2 separate regions of the Homo sapiens genome follow, and region 1 is linked to region 2. Evidence: promoter capture Hi-C in human tissues and cell types (Jung and others, 2019). All regions are on one chromosome and are shown on one strand. Each heading gives the region's core, a stretch centred on a gene start or on the middle of the fragment in contact. The rest is flanking DNA. Distances are from core to core; before and after follow the strand shown. Region 1 overlaps ZNF17 (zinc finger protein 17). Region 2 holds the start of ZNF132 (zinc finger protein 132).

The links. The method cuts DNA at HindIII sites, captures the fragments that hold promoters and counts their contacts. A contact is called where the count stands out against the background at its distance.
Region 1: a fragment that was not itself captured here is called in contact with the fragment with the promoter of ZNF132 in region 2 in 1 of the 25 tissues and cell types used here (lymphoblastoid cells).

Annotation. Positions count from the first base shown.
Region 1 is chr19:57,420,732-57,426,240 of GRCh38, reverse strand. ZNF17 (zinc finger protein 17) reads right to left here. Exons shown (of 4, transcript NM_001330617.2): 4 at 4,307-5,509. The coding sequence ends at 4,760. Among named protein-coding and RNA genes, the nearest start is that of ZNF749, 12 kb to the left of the region's middle. The HindIII fragment of the contact is 4,324 bases long and covers 1-3,791 here.
Region 2 is chr19:58,436,557-58,442,323 of GRCh38, reverse strand. ZNF132 (zinc finger protein 132) reads left to right here and starts at 2,171. Exons shown (of 3, transcript NM_003433.4): 1 at 2,171-2,565; 2 at 5,109-5,277. The coding sequence starts at 2,503. ZNF132-DT (ZNF132 divergent transcript) reads right to left here and starts at 1,876. Exons shown (of 1, transcript NR_186311.1): 1 at 1-1,876. It also overlaps a transcript of ZNF324B not described here. RefSeq lists enhancers at 974-1,483, 1,633-1,762, 1,995-2,505. The HindIII fragment of the contact is 13,144 bases long and covers 1-5,767 here.

The sequences.
Region 1 (5,509 bases), core at 380-2,879, 1.0 Mb after region 2:
AGAAAAAAATGTATATTATGAAAAAATTGGCCAGGGGTGGTGGCTTAAGCCTGTAATCACAGCACTTTGTGAGGCCCAGGCAGGTGGATCACCTGAGGTCAGGAGTTCGAGAGCAGCCTGGCCAACAGAGTGAAAACCCATCTCTACTAAAAATACAAAAATTAGCTGGGCGTGATTGTGGGCACCTGTAATCCCAGCTACTCAAGAGGCTGAGGCAGGAGAATTGCTTGAACCCAGGAGGCGGAGGTTGCAATGAGCCGAGATCATGCCACTGCACTCCAACCTAGCGTTAGTGAGACTCTGTCAAAAAAAAAAAAAAAAATTATGTATGGATTTCAATTTTTTACACCAAAGTGAATTTGTAATAACTTGTTCTAACAAGTATGAACAGGATCTAGTTTGAGGCACTAAGAACGGCATCAGTTTGAAAACACCTTCTATCAGAGGAATGTGAATTCAGCTAAGGTTGAAGAAAGAACAAATATCAAATATATAGTAAAGCTTGGCTCTAAAAATGGTAAAACCGGCCGGGTGCGGTGGCTCGCGCCTGTAATCCCAGCACTTTGGGAGGCCGAGTTTGGGCGGATCACAAGGTCAGGAGTTCAAGACCATTCTGACCAATATGGTGAAACCCCATCACTACTAAAAATACAAAAATTAGCCGGGCGTGGTGGCGCATGCCTGTAATCCCAGCTACACAGGAGGCTGAAGCAGAAGAATCGCTTGAACCCAGGAAACGGAGGTTGCAGTGAGCTGAGATCGCGCCACTGCACTCCAGCCCAGACGACAGAGTGAGACTCCGTCTCAAAAAAAAGAAAAAGAAAAGTTTATGGGCACAATGACCCAGAGAAATCAGAGTTTACAAACTGATAACCTGTTTTCTTTTTTTTTAGACGGAGTCTCACTCTGTCGCCCATGCTGGAGTGCAGTGGCACGATCTCCACTCACTGCAACCTCCGCCTCCCGGGTTCACGCCATTCTCCTGCCTCAGCCTCCGGAGTAGCTGGGAGTACAGGCGCCCGCCACCACGCCCGGCTAATTTTTTGTATTTTTAGTAGAGACGGGGTTTCACTGTGTTAGCCAGGATAGTCTCGATCTCCTGACCTCATGATCCACCAGCCTCGGCCTCCCAAAGTGCTGGGATTACAGGCGTGAGCCACCGCGCCCGGCCTGATAACGTTTTAAGAAGAGATGAGATGATGTTGACCACGCAGCCCACAATGGCAAACCATTAATAACAATTTGCGAGGAAGAAATTCATCTTGCTCATGACCTTATTGAAGAAGACTGATGATTAACAGCAGAAACAGTAACTGACACCACAGACATCTGAATTGGTTCAGCTTACACAATTCTGACTGAAAAATTAAAGTTGTGCGAACTTTCCACTCAATGGGTGCCAAAGCCACTGAATCCAGATCAGCTGCAGACAAGAGCAGAACCTTCAATGTAAATGTTAAACAAGTAGGATCAAGATGCTGAAGCATTTCTTTGAAGAATTGTACAGATGAAACATGGCTTTATTATTAATTACTATTTGAGATGGAGTTTCACTCTTGTTGCCCAGGCTGGAGTGCAATGGTGTGATCTCGGCTCACTGCCACCTCCGCCTCCCGGGTTCAAGCGATTCTCCTGCCTCAGCCTCCTGAGTAGCTGGGATTACAGGCATGCACCACCTCGCCAGGCTAATTTTTGTATTTTTTAGTAGAGAGGGGGGTTTCTCCATGTTGGTCAGGCTGGTCTCAAACTCCTGAGCTCAGATGATCCGCCCAACTCGGCCTCCCAAATTGCTGGGATTACAGACGTGAGCCACGGCGCCCGCAATGAGAGTGTTTTGAGAAAGTTAGCTAAAGCTTTAGCAGAAAACCCATGGGAAAGCTTCACCAGGAGTCCTTCACTTCAATGCTCCTGCTCATTCCTCTCATCAAATAACTGCAACTTTACAAGAATTCTGATAACCCTAAGGCATCCACCTTACAGTCCGGATTTGGCTCCTTCTGACTTCTTGTTTCCTACTTTTAAAAAATCTTTAAAGGGCACCCATTTTTCTTTAGTTAATATTAAAAAAGATTGCATAGACAAGGTTAAATTCCCAGGAACCTCACTTCTTTAGGGATGGACTAAATGCCTGGTATCATCACTTATAAAATTGTCTTGAACTTGATGGAGCTTATGTTGAGAAATAAAACTTGTTTTCTTTTTGTATCCTTTACTTTCATGTTTCCACAAACTTTCTGAAGTCCCCACATATACTAAAAAACTCCTACATCTCAAAACCAAATAACCCTAAAGAAAAAAAAAAAACTCAACCCAGTAAAACTACTAAAAAAAAAAATTAATAATAAAGTTAAATTAAAAAATGATGCAGCTGCTATAGAAGAGTCCTCAAAAATTTTAAAACAGAATTAACATAGAATGGGAACATTGTGAGTCAGAAATTTAAAAAATTAAAAATATTTTTTAAATGAACATAGGGGGACAGGTGAGTGGATCATGAGGTCGAGATTGAGACCATCCTTGCCAACACGGTGAAACCCCGTCTCAACTAAACATACAAAAATTATCTGGGCATGGTGGTGCATGCCTGTAGTCCCAGCTACTTGGGAGGCTGAGGCAGGAGAACTGCTTGAACCCCGGAGGCAGAGGCTGCAGTGAGCTGAGATCAGGCCACTGTACTCCAGCCTGGCGACAGAGCGAGACTCCCGTCTCAAAAAACAAACAAACAAACAAACAAACAAAAAAAAAACATAGAAAGCACCAATTCTACTTCTGAGTAAATCCTCAAAAGGAATTTAAAGCACAGCCTCAAAGAAACATTTGTACATTCATGCTCATCTGCTATTAACAACAGCTGAGTGGAAACAACCCAAATGTCCACTAATGAAAGGAAAAGTGGCACATACATATATAATCATGCACCTCACTTTTCAGTCAACAATGGGCCACATTCATGACAGTGGTTCCATAAAATTACAATGAAGCTGAAAAATGCTTATTGCCTAATGACATGATAGCAGTAGTAAGGCAATATATTAATCACATATTCATGGTGATGCTGGTATAAACAAACCTACTGTGAGGCCAGTCATATAGAAGTATAACATATACAATAATGTACAGTAGATAAAACTTACGAGTTACTAGCTTATGTTCTTAGCATACTACACTTTTTATCATTAGGTGTTCTCCAACAGTAGAGTATATATGGAGTTGTGTGTATGTCTATAAATATACAGGTGTACATACACACAAACTGTAACACAGCCTCGGGCAGGTCCTTCAGGAGGTATTCCAGAAAAAGGCATTGTTATTTTAGATGACAGCTCCATGTGTGTTACTGTCCCAGAAGATCTTCTGGAACAGGTTGTGAAGGTGGAATAAAATGACATTATCCTGATCCTGTGCCGGCCTAGACAAATGTGTGTATCTTAGTTTTTAACAAAAAAAATTTAAGAAGTTAGGATATAAAAAATATTTTTGTACAGTTGTACAATGTTTTAAGCAAAACATTATTACAAAAGTCAAAAAGTTTTTAAAAATACAAGCTTATAAAGTAAAAAATGGTCAGCTAAGGTTAATATATTAAAGAAAAATTTCTATAAATTTAATTTTGTCCAGCCGGGCACGGTGGCTCATGCCTGTAATCCCAGCACTTTGGGAGGCCAAAGCGAGTGGCTCACTTGAGGTCGGGAGTTTGAGACCAGCCTGGCCAACATGGTAAGACCCCGTTCTCTACTAAAAATACAAAAATTAGCGGGGCATGGTGGTGCATGCCTGTAATCCCAGACACTTGGGAAGCTGAGGCAGAACTGCTTGAACCAGGAGGTGGAGGAGGTTGCAGGAAGCCAAGATTGCACCACTGCACTCTAGTCTGGGCAACAGAGCAAGATTCTGTCTCAAAAATAATAATAAAAATAAAAATGTATTGTCGTCTAAGTACACAATGTCTATAAAGTCTACAGCACAGTAACAACCTAGGCCTTCACATTCACTTACCACTCACTGACTCACCTAGAGCAACTTGCAGTACTGTAAGCTTCATTCATGGTAAGTTCTCTGTGAGTCTATCATTTTTTCTTTTATACTGTATTTTTACTGTACCTTTTCTGTTTAGATATACTTAAAAACAATTACTTACCATGTGTTCCAACAGCCTACAGTATTCAGTACAGTAATATGCTATACAAGTTTGTAGCAAGGTGCTATAGGATATACCATACAGCCTAGGCATTCACGCAACCCCCCCACCACCAAAAAAAGAAAGAAAATCACCTAATAACACTTTTCTCAGGACACTTCCCCACTGTTAAGCAACACATGACTAACAGAATTTTATTCAGCCTTTAAAAAGGATGGAAATTCTAATGGATTAGAACATGAAACCTTAAAAATATAACGTTAAGCAAAATAAGCCACAAAATAAACCACAAGAAGACCAAAACTTAAGTTTTCTTATATGAGGTACCCGGACTAGTAAAATTCATACAGAGCGGTGCTTGTCAAGAGGCTGGATGGAGTGAGGAATAAGGTTTTAAAAGGTATAGACTTAGTTTCATAAGTTGAAAAGACTTCTAGATATTCATTGCACAATGTGAATGACTTAACAGTACTGAACTATACACTTTAACATGGTTAAGATGTTAGATTTTATGTTATCTGTATTCTACAAGAATACTTTTTTTAAAACGTAGGTCCCAGTGCTAAATCAGAGTAGATTTCTGTGTGAAGTCTTTCCCCATCTGCTTTATATATACATTCTTTATCTGGTGTGAACTTTCTGGTGCTGAATGAGATGAGAATTTTGGTTAAAGACTCTTCCACATTCACTGCACTGATAAGGTCTCTCTCCAGTGTGAATTCTCCGATGTTTAATGAGGCTGGAGTTGTATCTAAAGACTTTCCCACATTCACTGCACTCATAAGGCTTTTCTCCAGTATGAACTCTCTCATGACTAATGAGTGTGGAGCTGTCCATAAAAAATTTCCCACATTTGCTGCATTTGTAAGTTCTTTCCCTAGTGTGAACTTTTTGGTGCCGAATGAGGTGGGAATTTTGGCTAAAAACTCTCCCACACTCAGTGCACTCAAAAGACCTTTCTCCAAAGTGATTTCTCCGATGTCTAATATGATTTGAGTTGTGCCTAAAGAATTTCCCACATTCACTACACTCATAAGGCCTTTCACCAGTGTGAATTCTCTGATGTGTATCAAGTGTGGAGCGACATCTAAAGGATTTCCCACAAATGCTGCATTCAAAAGGTCTTTCTCCAGTGTGAACTCTCTGATGACTCTTCAGTGTACAGCTGTCCACAAAGAATTTGCCACATTCACTGCATTCATAAGGCCTCTCTCCAGAGTGAACTCTCTGATGTCTATTCAGTGTGAAGCAATACCTAAAGAATTTCCCACATTTGTTGCATTCATAAGGCTTTTCTCCAGTATGAACTCTCTGATGAATAATGAGTGTGGAAGTGTCCATAAAGAACTTCCCACATTCACTACACTCATA
Region 2 (5,767 bases), core at 922-3,421:
GGTGGCGGGCGCCTGTAGTCCCAGCTGCTCGGGAGGCTGAGGCAGGAGAATGGCGTGAACCCGGGAAGCGGAGCTTGCAGTGAGCCGAGATTGCGCCACTGCAGTCCGCAGTCCGGCCTGGGCGACAGAGCGAGACTCCGTCTCAAAAAAAAAAAAAAAAAAGAACTGTAACACTCAACACGAGGGTCCGCGGCTTTATTCTTGAAGTCAGCGAGACCAAGAACCCAGAGGAAGGAAACAATTCCGGACACAGCAGGACACTGGCCAGTGCCAGGGCCAGCAGCACCTCCCAGAGGGAACAATGGAAAGGCGGAGGAAAACCTAGATTTCATGTGTAGGGGAAAGAGGAGACACAGTAGCCTTACCTAGTGGGCACTGGAGTACAAAGCTCTGTAGTATCATGTCACTGTAGAAGCCCCCTTGGACCTCACTAAGGAGCCCCACATTCTTGGAAGATGTACTGACCCTGTCCTCAAAGGTCATTAAGCCCTGCAACACCAAGCCAATGGGCAGACAGATGTGATCTAAGCACTGAGCGTGAGCCCTAGCCACTGGTCCTCCAACCTAAAACCCTCCTTCCCAAATCCTATCCTCAGGCCGTTCACTGGGCCAGGCCACCAACATAATGCAGTCTGGACGTCCTGAAGCCACACCAGAATTCTATATATCCAGAGGCCCATTTGACACCTCCACTCACAGGTCTCCAGACAATTCAGACTCTATACCTACAAAATCCATCGCTAATCTTCCATGAAACATCCTCCTCCTGCCAACTGCCAACCTCTATTCTCCACAGGAGGCATCCTAATTCTTCCTAACTACTTGGGATGGTCCTTCACCCCTACTCATGCTTATTCCACTTATCTAAGGTAGCAAAAAATTCCATTAGCTCTATCTTGAAGATCCACTGGGAATCTGATCACTTCTCCCATCCTTCTTGCTTCCGTTCTGGACAGGCCACTATCATAACTGTCTGGAACAATACTGCAATAACCTCCCCCACAGTCTCCCTGCTTCCAGCCCCACTACAACCACCTTCTCCAGTAGTGTGTTCATTCAGCAACCACTGAAATACTTTCCAAATTCTAACTCAGGTCATGTCCATCCCTTTTCTGTTCAACACCTTTCATGGCTCCCAGGCGCCCTCGGTGTGCCAGGAGAGGCAGGACTCCTCTTACGCTCTCCACTCGCTGCCAAGGGGGCATGAGAGCCTGCCTGAACGCTCAGGTCAGGGTCAAGTCCAAGTCTTCGCATATGCAGATCCCTCCTCCTGTACCCTCCACGTCTCAACAAACTGGATTCTGAAATGGTGACCCCCAACCTGTGAACGCTCCACACTGTTCAGTGGGGCCCGCAGAGGACCTGGGGCAGATACTTCTCAATCGGAGACTTAGGACAATGGTGCTGAGTCCAGCGGAGTGGGTGCCAGGAGACCTTTGGCGCACGTTCCATGCCTACAGCCGGGCGCACACTGGGTCAAGACCTCCCAATGCGTAGCTTTTCTTGGCCTCGGCCTCGCGCTCCCTAAAGCCAACATAACGCCAAGGGCGACGACTCCCGAGAGCCGCGGACACCTCCGCGCGGTGCAACCTGAGGGTCCCACTGGGCCGGCTTTATCTAAGGCACAGGGTGGGGAAGGGGGGTGCGGTGTTGTGGGGGGCGAACACTGGGCTCAGGGGCGATATTCGCCGCGGTGGGGGCGCTTGTATGTCAAGAAGGCGGAACTTCCCCGACTCTCGTGCCTTCCTCGCTCCTGTTTCCATGGGCCCAGGGAGCCTCCAAGATTCCGTCCCTCGCCTGACAACGCGGTCCCTTCAGAAGCAGACAAAATCGAGAAATGCCAAAGTGATGGTCCGAGGACGACGACGGAAGTCCCGCTGCCAGGCTGTGATTGGCCAGCGTCTTACACTCCGCCCGGAAGTGCCTGTCTCCTCGGCTGCCAATGGCCAGCCCTGAGGCACCGCGAGGGTCCTTCTGGATAATGTAGTTTGCGTTGCCTGAGCAGCGACGCAATAAACGCCATTCCTCAATCACCTTGGCAACGACCTAGCAGTAGCGTGACGGGCATAGGGAAATAGCGTCATAGACGGCGGGGATCCTTGAGCCAATGAAAGCTCGGACCAGTGGCAAGTCCGAGCTGTCATTGAGAGGCGGGACTTCCGGCGCCGCCATTGCGGTCCTCATTTTGCTGCTGGTGGGTTGGGCTACAGCAGGCCTCTGGAGCCACACCAGGGCACGGGAGTGGGTGCAGGGACCGTCACCGCGCCTTCACACGCACCATAGTGCCCGGCTAATTACTCTGCTTTTATGAGCCAAGGTGTTCCCGAAAGTGGAGCCAGCGCCACGCGTCTCCAGGGTCTCCATACCCAGCCTTCGTCCCTGCGGTGCCCAGAGGCCTTGCGCGCATTTTGCATTTGGGAAGACAGGTCCTGAGTGCGACCGTCACCCAGCGGAAGTGTGAGGGTTCGGCCCAGCGGCAGGGCTAGCCCTGGGCCTCCTGTTATGGCCCTGCCCAGCCCACAGGTTCTAATGGGGTTGCCAGCGTTGCTGATGGGCCCGGCGCAGGTAAGTGGAGTGTGCCCCAGGCCCTCACCCGCTGGGATTCCGGCCCTCAGGATCCTGAAGCCCAGATAGAGGGGATGTTGGTGTCCTGGGACTCTTGATCGTGTCCTGTCCTCACACGTGGGTCCTGGGCCCTGCCCTGGGAGTCACTTACCCTTACCATCCTGAATCCAGGCAAGGGGTTATATCGAGGGATTCCCATTTCTGGAATCCTGTGGAATGAGATCTGGAAGGCTGTCCCAGGGACAGTGACCAGCATGTGTACCTTGTTTAGTGGTGATGAAATGGAAGCATTCTGGGGACTGCCGGTCTCCATTTAGTCTGGTGGAAACAGGGAAGGGAAACCAATAGTTAGGCCTGGAATGGCAGCCTGAGGAGCTGGACCTCTATTCTGATGGTGGTGGGAGCCATGGAAGGTTTGGAGTAGAGGAAGTAGGTGCTCTGACTCCAGTCTTAACAGACGCCCTATGGATGCCTAGTGGGCAGCAGACTGGAGGGATGGTGATGGTGGAGCAGGAAGGCCAGTGAGGAGCTGACAGATGTGGTCCAGATGTGTGCTTTGGGTAGCTGGACAGAGGGGTGCCCGTGGAGGTAGGACAGATGGTTGGCTTCTGAATCTGCCCAAACTGGGCCATGGATTACCTGATGTGGGACAGTGAAAGAAAGTGAAATGTTAAGATTGACCTAAGGCTGAGTGCAGTGGCTCACACTTGTAATCCCAGCACTTTGGGAGGCCAAGGCGGCCAGATCACTTGAGGTCAGGAGTTCAAGACCAGCCTGGCCAACGTGGCGAAACCCCACCTCTACTAAAAATACAGAAAAATTAGCCAGGACATGGTAGTGTGCACCTGTAATCCCAGCAACTTGGGAAACTGAGGCAGAAGAACTGTTTGAATCTGGGAGATGGAGGTTGCATTGAGCTGAGATCGTGCCACTGCGCTCCAGCCTGAGTGACAGAGCGAGACTCTGTCTTAAAAAAAAAAAAAAATTGCCGGGCGTGGTGGCTCACGCCTGTAATCCCAGCACTTTGGGAGGCCGAGGCAGGTGGATCACTAGGTCAGGAGATTGAGACCATCCTGGCTAACACGGTGAAACCCCATCTCTACTAAAAATACAAAAAATTAGTCAGGCGTGGTGGTGGGTGCCTGTAGTCCCAGCTACTCGGGAGGCTGAGGCAGGAGAATGGCTTGAACCCGGGAGGCGGAGCTTGCAGTGAGCCAAGATCGCGCCACTGCACTCCAACCTGGGTGACAGAGCGAGACTCTGTCTCAAAAAAAAAAAAAAAAAAATTGACCTTAGATCTTTCAGATGTGGAAGTTGGTGTGAGGAGTAGATTTCAGGGGGAAGATAAAGAGTTGGATTTTGGCCATGTTGTATTTGAGATGTCCCAGACACTACCAAATTGAGGTGCCAAGTAGACCACTAAACATGTGATTATGAAATTATGTCGGGTTTAGGCTGGAAACATCCAAGGGATGGATGCTTGTGTGTGGACACTGCATGCAGTTGTGGGTTGGGTTCAAGATAGTGGCTGAGCCTCCTGAGCAGAGAGTAGGTCTAGGACAACAGTGAAGCATAGCGGCAAAAGTAGGATGAGAGTTGGGCTTTGGTTTAGGTTGATTTGCTTCTCTACAGCTCACTACATTGTTGCGGCCATCCTTCTTGTGGTCAGGGCATGTTATCTCTTCTTAAATAGGGTCCTGGGGTTTTTGTCAGGCTGGTGGAGTGGCAAGATCAGAAAGGGTCAGCCTAAGCTGAGTCCCCAAGCCAAGGTGGGGGCCAGTGGATCTTGGATTTGAGTGTTAGGAAGAGCAAGGACAGCTATGACTGGGGAGGAGACAACACATACAAAGGCAAAGATATCAGAGGGAAGAGATATTTGAGATCTGCTTATGGTTCTGGGCAGCTGATGGTTGAAGGAACAGGGCTGGCAGGGGAGGCATTGACTTGAGGGGCTATGACTGCCTCTTGCAGTGGGGTTTTTGGAGCTCTGTAGCTGGCTTGGACCAGGAATGGATCCCGGTTGCATCTGTCAGGTATGCCATGTGCATGGTGAGATGCTAGGGAGAATGCCTACAGTGTGAACAGGGAGGGGTTGGAAATATAAGAACTGTATGGTCTGAGGAGTGACATGTAAAGGTGAGAGAATGTGAACCATTGGGCCCATGGCCCTGGTACAAGAGGCTTAAGAAAGGGAAGCCCAAATTTTCTTATGTTTGGGAGGTATGAGCCAGAAGACACAAGGAAAATTGGCCAGCAGGAGGGAGGAGGAAGCATCCATCTGCCCACCTGCCTATTGTTCCTCTAGGTTGGGTTGGCCTGGATACAGTGACCAGTGGGACTACTAGGAGAGAGGGGCACCATTAATTCCAGGGCATGTTAGGTGGGGGCCCTGAGGAAGAAGATAAGCTGTGGATGGGTGAGTAGTGGGTGGACTGAGAGGATCATAAGAAAAAGAGATATTAGTGGTAGATGTATCAGGATTCTGAGTCACACAGCAAGGTCCTGCATATTTCCATTTGACCAATTGTTTGTTTCTTTGTCAGCATACTTCTTGGCCCTGTGGCTCAGCTGTCCCCACATTGAAGAGCATGGTAACCTTTGAAGATGTGGCTGTATACTTCTCCCAAGAGGAGTGGGAGCTCCTTGATGCAGCCCAGAGGCACCTGTACCACAGTGTGATGCTGGAAAACCTTGAGCTTGTGACCTCACTTGGTAATGCCCTGTCTCAGCATGGTGATGACTACCTTATGCCTTGTGTCTTTTCCCCATAGAAAGCTCTGTTCATCCCAAAGCCAGATCATGGGTACTGCTTCCTTCTCGGGTTTCCTGTTGTAGGTGCTGGGGTGCTGAGGTTCTGCTGTGTGTACTTCCCCTGTCTCTCTCTGAGCAGCCTCATGAGCTTTCCTAATAGCTGTTGCCCAGGAGCCTTGTGGAGGCAAAGGTTGGGGATCAGACACCTCCAGTCTGCCTAACAGATCCCACTGAGATTCACCAATCCCTGGTCGGGTTACCCAGTATGAGGTCATGCCCAGATTCTGTCTCTTTCCCAATGAGATTTTTTTTTCCTTTTTTTTTTTTTTTTTTTTTTTTTGAGATGGAGTCTTGCTCTGTCCCCCAGGCTGGAGTGCAGTGGCGTGATCTCAGCTTACTGCAAGCTCTGCCTCCCAGGTTCACGCCATTCTCCTGCCTCAGCCTCCCAAGT